2 separate regions of the Homo sapiens genome follow, and region 2 is linked to region 1. The links are contacts of gene promoters, found by promoter capture Hi-C in blood cells and fetal thymus (Javierre and others, 2016). All regions are on one chromosome and are shown on one strand. The core of a region is centred on a gene start or on the middle of the fragment in contact, and the rest is flanking DNA. Distances in the headings are between cores, read along the strand shown. Region 1 holds the start of C1orf105 (chromosome 1 open reading frame 105). Region 2 overlaps DNM3 (dynamin 3).

Region 1 (4,910 bases), core at 851-3,350:
TTCTTAAAGCATTGTGATTTAAGACGGTCTTTGGTAGAGACTAATAATCTACCTTCAAGTGAAATTTCTGTCCAATAGAAGAATAAAAAGAAAAAGAAAATTTATGGATGTCTAGAAAAAACACAGAAGACTAAATAATTCCAATCCACCTCCAGGAATCCCATTTTTACTTATTATTGCACCAAAATATTTTTTCCTATTATTGTTTTTCTAAACACTCTTAAGGGAGATAAAATGTAAGATCATAGAAGAAACTGTAGAGCAAAAACACATAAACCTCATAAATTCTATATGGCAAATGTAAGGGCGAAAAACCACATCATTCAGAATAAAAGTACAAGGCAAGGAAATGTTGCCACCTTGAGAAGAAAGACTCTTCATGATGTCAGTAAAGCACTAGAAAAATGGAGTCCATATAAGTTTGAAGGAATAGAGAACTTTTTATTCCTCTATCCTCAAATGGTAATTCTAACACTAAAATTTTAATCTATAATTTTTTAACAAGCATCCCAAAGATGTATCCAAATAAAATGTTTATTATTTAGGTAATATAGTACATTCCACCAAATATGTGATCTGAAGCCTTCCCAAAGGTTTAAGATTTAATTCAGAATTTTATTTTTTGAAAATTTATGTGGCCTAAAATAGAACTTGAAAGTAGTCCTTCTCAAATGAGATCACTTCTGAATGTGCTCCCCTTCAGCATATTAAGATGACAGAAAACTACATGACAAGAGAGTCAAAAAAATCATTCATCAGTTCTATTTACTTCACATCTGACCTAGGCAAGCCCTGGCAAAGGAGGTATTTGGAAGATGTGGGCAGGAACCCCCAGTTGTAAAAGGGAGAGTCCTCATTAGTAATGCTGTTTCTTCGGACCACAAATTTTTTTAAGGACTGAGTTCTCCACTCAAAAATGAAAAATCAGTTTCTTGGTTTAAAATGTTCATATGGCATGTTACATTATTTTAATTGTATCCCCGGTCCAGTGACTACCATTTAAAATCAGTGATAACTAAGAAAGTTCAAAGGCTCCAAACCAAGGCATCAACTGAAGCTCATGTATAGCAGGAAGGAGGTGACTTGATGTAAAATAGCACATAGCATGCAGTCTTTTGTCCTTTCCTTCCCCTCCAGTCCAGGCATTTGATTTTTAAATCAATATTCTTAGTGGATAGCATTCTTCATCCCAATAGACAAAAATGTACCTAGATGATTTCATACCACCTCCCCAAATGAAAACCGAAGTTGTCAAAGAGAAGGTTTTCTTCAATTCATTTTTTAAAAGTGTTTGGTACTTTTCCACTTTGTCTTAAACATGGACTTATTTTTATATGCAGTGTTACACAGTTTAGATGTATAAAACTTAAATTGACCTGATGAATGATGAGAAGGAAAAACTCCAGTCATAACAGAATGAAATGACAACCTTACTCAGTTTTCCTTAACAAAGAAGTGTGTTCCCTTCCTTACATTCTATAGGCAAGAAAAAAGAGGGCAGGGGAAAGGGATGGGGGGCAGCCTGGAGTAAAATTAAATTATGCTAAGATTTGTTAATATGTATTTAGTAAATAGTATTTCTATGTTTCATAATATACCTTTCCCCAACTCTTCTTACCTCCACCTCCACCCTGCTATGTTTAATAGACTTGAAAAATTACTCCCTTTTTCAGAGTTGATCATAACTCAGGATAGTCAGGAAGAGCCAAACTATTATGCCTTTAGTAAACATAATATTCCTTATATATTTTCATTCCTTTATTTATGCATCAAACATTTCTTGAATTCATGATAATGTCCTGGACCCTGGGAATACCAGAGAAGTAACAGAATAAAAGTAGCTTACAAAATAGCTAAATAAGCAATTACAATGTAGTGCTACAATAAGAGAAAAGTTTGGTTGTCTTTCCAGGGAGAACTGTTCTGACTTCAGTACTGAAGCAGCTATCTGAGTTTTAGTATACTGTTATCAACTTTACCCAACACATGCTAATGTTCCAGAACATTGTGATTTTGACTTCTAACAAAGAAAGGAATACTAGAACTCATTTCAGCCAATCAGAAACTGAGCTTTTCATTCTGAATGGAATTATATGATTCAAGATGTAAATCACACAGATGTTGGTAGAGAAAAAGGCATACTGGTATTGAAACTGTAAACTGGCCTGTTTACTTCGTCTCCTAACAAAAAACACTTTGGATTCAGGTTCTCCACAGCAGTCTTCCACTGGCCACAGTGAGGGGAGCTAGGTTTCCCCAGTCTCCAGCTAGAAAAACTCAGAACATCTAAAGATCTGAAAGATGGAAAAAAGAGAACTAAAGGTAGGAAAAAAATAAATGAAACTTCCAATTCTTTCCTTATGGGGTTACCCTGGTAAATGTTTGTATGCCTTGGAGGCCACATAAACATTGAGGGGTGTTTCAACAGACATCCTAGAAGTTGAAAGCCAAAAGAAGGTAAGGAAATAACAGCTGATGTTCAGTTACAGGTGAAGATAATTTTAATGGGTTTGGGGCATGATAAATTTCAATGCTCTTTATCGTATAGTTTGGAAAAAATGTTGTACTTGCCAACATCTTTTATAACTCAGCATTTAAGTATGATTTTTTTAAATCCTCAGAAAATTGATACCAGATTCTTTAGTGCAGTTCCCTGAGATTCTGAAGTAAACCTTCTCAACTGTGAATGCACTTTAAAACAATGAATCTCAGTCACAGGAAGTTAAGATTGCTGAGAAAGAAAAAAAAACTTGTATAGACTTTTATAATTACTAGGGTCTAAATCTGAATAAATCACATTGAGCTTATGACACTGTATGTTTCCTATTTAAAGGGATATACTAGCTGTCTCTATTACCATAGTACAGGTGCTCCTTGACTTATGATAGGGTTACATCTCAATAAACCACCACAAGTTGAAAATATTGTAAGTCAAAAATGCATGCAATACCCTGATGAACCCATGATAAAGTAAAAAAATCCTAAGTTGGGGAGGACGCAGAGCAAGATGGCCAAACAGAAGCCTTCACTGATTGTTCTCCATGCACGAACATCAAATTTAACAACTATCTACACAAAAAAGCACCTTCATAAGAACCAAAAATCAGTGATCACAAAGTGATCACAGTACCTGGTTTTAACTTCGTATTGTTGAAAGAAGCACTGAGGAAGATAAGAAAGACAATCTTGAATTGCTGACACCACCCCTCCCCCATCCCCTGGCAGCAGCCACATAGTGTGGAGAGAGAATCTGTGCACTTGGAGGGAGGGCACAGCGATTGTGGGACTCTAGAATTCAGTGCTGCCAATACGGGGCAGAACTTAGCTGTTGCCAATGGAGGGACCATTTAGACCACCCTTAGCCAGAGGAGAATTGCCCATCCCAGGTTTCAGAAACTGAGTTTTGACTACCTCCACCACCATGGGCTAAAGTGCTCTGAGGTCCTAAATAAACTTGAAAGCCTGTCTGGGCCACAACAACTGCAATACCCAGGCAAGTCCTAGTGCTGTGCTGGGCTCTGAGCCAGTGGACTGGGGAGCGCACGATCTAGTAAGACACCAGCCAGGATGGCTAAGTAAGTGCTTACAGCACCCCTCCCCCAACCCCAGGCAACACAGCTTATGGCTCCAAAAGGGACTCCTTCCTTTGCTTGAGGAGAGAAGAGGGAAGAGTGAAAAGGACTTTGTCTTGCAACTTGGATACCAGTTCAGCCAGAGTAGGATAGGGTACTGGGCAAAATCCTGAGGCACTCATTGCAGGCCCTAGCTCTTGGATGACATTTCTAGATATACCCTGGGCCAAAAGGGAACTGCCTTGAAGGGAAGGACCCAGTCTTGGCAGATTTCATCACATGCTGAATAAAGAGCCTTTGGACCCTGAAAAATCAGTAGCAGTAGCCAAGTACTACATACCGTGGGCCTCAGCTGAAACTCCGAAATGCACTGGCTTCAGATGTGACCCAGCACATTCACAGGTCTGGTGGCTACGAGGAGAGACCACTTCTGCTTGAGAAGAACAGAGGGAAGAATAAAGGGGACTCCGTCTTGAGCTTAGGTACCAGCTTAGCCACAGTGGGAAAGAGCACCAAGCCAGCTCTTTGGGTCCCTGATTCCAGTCCTTGGCTCTTGGATGGCATCTCTGGACCTATTCTAGGCCAGAGAGGAGCCCACTGCCCTGAAGGGTAAGTCACTTTCCTGGCAGCATCCAACACATGCTGGCAGAAGAGCCCTTGGGCCTTAAGTGAACATTGGCAGTATCCCAGCAGTACTCCTCATGGGCCTGTGGTGGTGTTGGACATGAGAAGAAACTCCTTTGCCTGGGGAAGAGCAGGAAAGGGTGGGAAGGACTTCAGTGGTTCGGGTGCCAGGTCAGCCACAGTAGAATACAAAACCAGGTAGATTTCTAAAGTTTCCAACTCCAGGCCCTGACTCCCAGACAGCGTCTCTGGACTCACCCAGGGCCCAGGGGAACTTGATTCCCTGAAGGAAAGGACACAGCCTTGCTGGTTTTACCACCTGCTGATTGTAGCGCCCTAGAGCCTTGAGCGAACATAGATGGTAGCCACGTAATAGTTACAGTGGGCCTTGGGCAAGACCCAGTGCTATGCTGGCTTCAGGTCTGACCCAGGGCAGTCCCAGTAGTGGTGGCCACAGGAGTGCTTATATCACCCCTCCCTTAGCTCCAGTCAACTCAGCACAGGAAGAGAGACTCTGTTTCTTTGGGAAAAAGTAAAGGAAGAGAACAAGAGTCTCTGCCTGGTAATCCAGAGAATTATTCTGGATATTATCTAGGACCACCAAGGTGGTACCTCTATGAGTCTGCAAGAGCCACAGCGTTACTGGGCTTGGGGTACCCCTTAATGCTGATATGGCTGCAGTGGCCAAAAACTTAGATCATAACACCCAAGTCC
Region 2 (4,910 bases), core at 1,375-3,874, 240 kb before region 1:
AGAAAGAAGTTTAGGATAAAGGACTTCATTACCTGCCTTGTGGGGGCTTAGAAATGTAAGATAACTAAGAGACAAAATTACGGGATGAGAGTAAGAGTTAGGGATGAGACAATAGGAGTAAGGGAAGTAATGTTAAAAGATACCTAACTGTGTGTTATAAAGCACTTTGGCTCTGAGTGGACTTATAGCCAACCCAGGGGAAATGCTAACAGTGATGTGGTTTTGGTATCCATAAGACAAACACAATCTGAGAGAAATGTCTCCATTGGATCTTCCTAAAGGTCATGCACATCCTCAGTATTATCCTGTGGTAAATACTATATTTTATAGGGTTTTTTTCCCTTAATGTGCCCAATGAATATACAGTCATACATTGCTTAACGATATAATTATATTCTAAAAGTTGTGTTATCAGGCGCTTTCTTTGTTGTCCAAACATCATAGAGTGTTCTTACACAAAGCTAGATGGTCTAGCCCACTACATGCCTAGGCTGTTTGTTTTGTTCCTAGATTACAAACCTGTAAAGCCTGTTTCTGTACTGGATACTGTAGGCAATTGTAACACTGTGCTAAGTATTAGTGTATCTAAACATATCTAAACAGAGGAAAAGCTACAGTAATAATACTGTCATATAATCTTATGAGACCACTGTCATTGAAGGTGTGGTCTCTTCTCAACTAAAATGTGGTTATGTGGCATATGGCTGTAATAAGAAGAAGAAAAAAATCCAATTCCAATCCATCCAACACACTGGTGTTAAAAAATAAACTTAAATCTTAAGAAAGTGTCCAGAGATTGATTTTTCCATTGAGAGTAATTTATTCATTTATTTAAAAATATTTATTGAGTATTTATTATGTACTTGAGTCTGTATAATTCTGAGAGTACAGTAGTAAATTTTTTACATATATGAAGTGAAGATGACTGGAGAGGGGAGTAGGAGGTTGATGTGTAAGTCAGAGAATCCACAAGTAAGGAAGGGATAGGAATGAACATAGATGAAGCAGTTAAAAGAAGCAAGGTAGTAAGATAGTGCATGCCGTGATGATGAAGAGAGGGAGAGAGACAGAGAGAAAGGGTGTGCAAGAGATACAGCAAGAGAGCAAAACAGAGAGAGAAAGAGAGACAGAGAATGGACCCTGGTTTACTTCAACTTCAAGCTGATGTTACAGAGATATCAATGAAAGGAAGAAAGAGTAAGTCACTGGGTTTGATTATTAGTTGATCATCAGTGATCTTTAGGATTTCATTGTCAATACAATGGTAAAGACAGAAGCTAGATTGCAGGGGGTTAAGGGGTCACCTTATGGAGATGAAATAGAATAAGTCTTATTCCAGCTCCATGGGCATGTCTCTATCGCTTTATGTCTCAGTCCATAAAATAGAGCAAAAATGGTGATCCTCCTCTAGTCTAAAATATAAGGAATGCTTTGAACTGCTGGGTGAGCTAATACTCTAAAGCCAGGGCGGTGATAGTAGTTATCTGTGTGTACTTTGAATGAAACTGGACTTAGAATGCTGAGCTAGTTGTTTTGTGGAGCCTACTTTCAGAATGTCACCTCTAATTTTGCATTCATGAAAAGCATTCTCCTGCCTGGACTAGAATCCAAAAATTTTTTGTTTATTATTAGTGGTGACTGATTGTCATTTGTGGACTGTGATCTACATGTAATGAAGTGGAATTTGGCCACTGGTTGTGTTGCAAAGCTTTTCTGAGTAGTGTTATTGCATCTTAGTTTTGACAAAGTTTGTTACTCCCACTAGTATTTAACTGGTATTAAATTCAAGATTATATTTTCATAATGTTGTTTGGAAACCAAAAGAAAATAATTGGTATGAACGTGCTTTGAAAAGTTAAAGGATTATATAAGTATTAATTATAATTATCATTAAAGTGATTTAATAGAAGTATTATTCTACTAAAATAAAATAAGAACTGCTAAATTCAAGATGTCATTGAGAAGAGGGGAGAAGTTTTTTTTGCTATGGTTTATTTCAGCTTCTGTATAACTTACATGGACTTTCTAAGAAAAATGTATACAGGCAATATTTATAAATATGTGTGTATATTTTAATGATGCTATGCCGGATCATTTCTGCTTGGATTATTTGTGGCCTTATTTAATTCTGGACTTATTTTCCAGCATAGTTTTGGGAATACAGATTCAATAATTTTTAGATATAACCAATAAGTACTGGGTGACTACTCTGTAAAAGCACTTCTTCATATCTCACATTTTAATCTTCACAATAGCTTCATCAGAGCAGGTGTTATTACTTTTTTATGTATTAAAAAACTAAGGCTCTGAGAGGTTAATTAGATTTTCGCCCATGGCGTACATAGCAGGGATTAGACGACTAGAACCCTACCATTAGTAGATAATAAGCTCAGGTGGTGAAAATCAATTAGCTTCAGTAAAGCCTAATTGTATCTGTAAATATGTTACAAATATCATACCGTGTCTCTGAGTTCTGAGTCAAATTTGCAGTGTTTTTGAAGCAGCATTGCCTTCTGTTACCTGGCTGCTCTTGTATAGTTTAGCATGAATGCATGGCAGTTTGCCCTGTAGGAACAAATCTAGTCTATGTGGATATACTATCATGATTCAGTTAGGTCTCAAGATCAGTAAATTAATTTATGTAAAGAATAAGATACTATGTATTTCGGTTTTTCAATACAGAACCATGAGTAGGAGAGTTTGTATGTTTACTGCATGCTAACCAACACTTGTTTGTTCTTTATGGTTTACCAATTTCACTCGTTAGATCCTGACTTTTACCCTGTATCGTAGATAGGGCTGAGATTATGCACCTCATTTTACTCACAAGGAAACTAAAGCCAAAGAACAGTGTGTGATTTTCTCAGTAGCCTTCAAATATATTGGCCTAGAAAATATTCTGATAGATAAATAGTCTAAGGACAAGTGGATTCATTGTAATATCTGCAATGCATTTTATTTCTTATATAATTAAGAGCTTACTGCTAGAATACAGTGTGATTTAGGTAAAACTTCTCAACATATAGCATACTTGAGGGAAAACAGAAGATCATAAAAAGTTTCCTTCTTTTATTGCAGGAATAGCATATGATTTATTTGAAGCCTAATTATTTTCCAGAGGAATGCTCTACATGTTTCCAATAGCTGTTTTGTGTTTCTGTAGAGGGTTAGAGGAGAAGCTGCCAGTTTCCTCCCAATACTGATGTTGCAAATCTCAGAACTTTAATCTGGAACACTCTCCTCTGTTATGTATATGTATGAAAATTTGCCCTACCTATTACCTTACTTTGGCATGTGGCATTTACTTGTGAAAAATGTCACAATATCTAATAGTTTATTTCCTACTCATGGATATAAGGCAAAATAACATTAAACAAGAATAAATATCTGTTTACCAACATTTAAATGATAGTTCTTTTGTTGTCAACTGGCAAGTACGGAGCACTTACCAAGTGCCGCCACTCCGCTGGGCTCTGGGGAACACAGCTCTTCCTTAGCTGAGCTCATAATCTGGACTGTGAGGCCTACACATCAGGGCAGAAAGCTTCTAGTTTCACTTTTCATATAGTAATTTTGAAAGCATAAGAGGCTTTGCAAAACATCTTTTAAAATAAAGATGCTTCTCCACCATCTCTAAGATAAGTTGGTTCTTTTTGGCAAAGGTGATTTTAATTGTTAGTACATTTCCAAGACAAGAAATGCAATCTGTTGACACGCCCTTCAAAATAATCAGATGAAAACAAGGAACACAAATATGTCCAGCCCTGAACTCTTCATTTTTCCTCTTGATGAATCCTTTCTTATGCTTTAAAACACTTGAGTTTACACACACACACACACACACACACACACACACACACACATATTTCTGGTAGGCGTGGAGATATATATCTATATATATCTTGCTATTAGGGCAATTCCCTGAAAGATTACACTACCTTCTTTATGCATAACGTCAATGCCTGATATTAAACAGAAACGAACTATGTGACTATGCTTTCCTTTTTAAATATGTGAACGTATTTCTCTACAGAGTTGTTTTGTAGCCGTATTGCTACTAAACTGGTGCCCAGCTCCAGGCCTGCAGACTGCTGACACACAATTAATCTCACAAATTTATGAATGCCAAAGCATGGAGCAAAATGAAAACAACTGGGGGAATGTTTAAGGGAAATAATTGGACTGTATCCAGATGTGCATGTGTAAAACATCACCACTTAACTCCTCCCCCATATCCTGTCTGAAGACAGGGTTTTTTTTTTTTTTTTTGAAAATAAACTGGGGTTATTTGAAAGAAGTTGTGGTCTCTGACTAAAACTGAATAAGCAAGGCCAGGCTGGCCATAATTCTGTGTGTTCTTGTATTTTTGTTTCTTAATTAACTCATTAGGTGCTGATGAATCAATCTGCCTCATGTCTGTTTTTGGTGGGTGTTGCCACAACTTTATGAACTCTATTTAAAGATAATATGTAAGGGGTTTCAAGACTGATAGTCGATTTCTTTGAGTTTTTGGTTATAACGAACTGGAACTTTTTACTATTAGAAATAGGCAACATTATTGTAGTGTGAAGGTCATCAAGCTGGGACGTGAAGTCTGGTCAAGAGGAAAAAAATGTGACAACATTTTATAGTTTTTTTTTTTTTAACAGTCTGTCCAAGATCAGTTAGGGGAAACAAACAAACAAAAAAACGATTTCTCTAAGATGCTTAACTCACTAGATAAAGCATAAAAATGGAGATAATAATGTTGAGTTTGTGTGCATGAAATTAATTTAGGATCTGGCATCACTGGGATATGAGAAGCTAGAGGACAGGGTGCTCTGAAGAAATATTTTGCAGGTTGATGTCTAACCATCATTACATACCTTAAATGGTACTAGAGATGAAGTAATAAAACACACTTTTTCCCT

Evidence for each region. The method cuts DNA at HindIII sites, captures the fragments that hold promoters and counts their contacts. A CHiCAGO score of 5 or more calls a contact.
Region 2: a fragment that was not itself captured here is called in contact with the fragment with the promoter of C1orf105 in region 1 in 3 of 17 cell types (non-activated CD4 T cells, activated CD4 T cells and naive CD4 T cells); the score reaches 8.8 in non-activated CD4 T cells.

The regions. Positions count from the first base shown.
Region 1 is chr1:172,418,585-172,423,494 of GRCh38, forward strand. It overlaps C1orf105 (chromosome 1 open reading frame 105), which reads left to right and starts at 2,101. Exons shown (of 7, transcript NM_139240.4): 1 at 2,101-2,322. The coding sequence starts at 2,302. LOC102724528 (a long non-coding RNA gene) reads right to left here and starts at 4,772. Exons shown (of 3, transcript XR_001738294.3): 1 at 3,913-4,772. The HindIII fragment of the contact is 10,347 bases long and covers 1-4,910 here.
Region 2 is chr1:172,177,552-172,182,461 of GRCh38, forward strand. All of the region lies in intron 14 of DNM3 (dynamin 3), which reads left to right. Among named protein-coding and RNA genes, the nearest start is that of DNM3OS, 35 kb to the left of the region's middle. RefSeq lists an enhancer at 3,595-3,644. The HindIII fragment of the contact is 1,836 bases long and covers 1,707-3,542 here.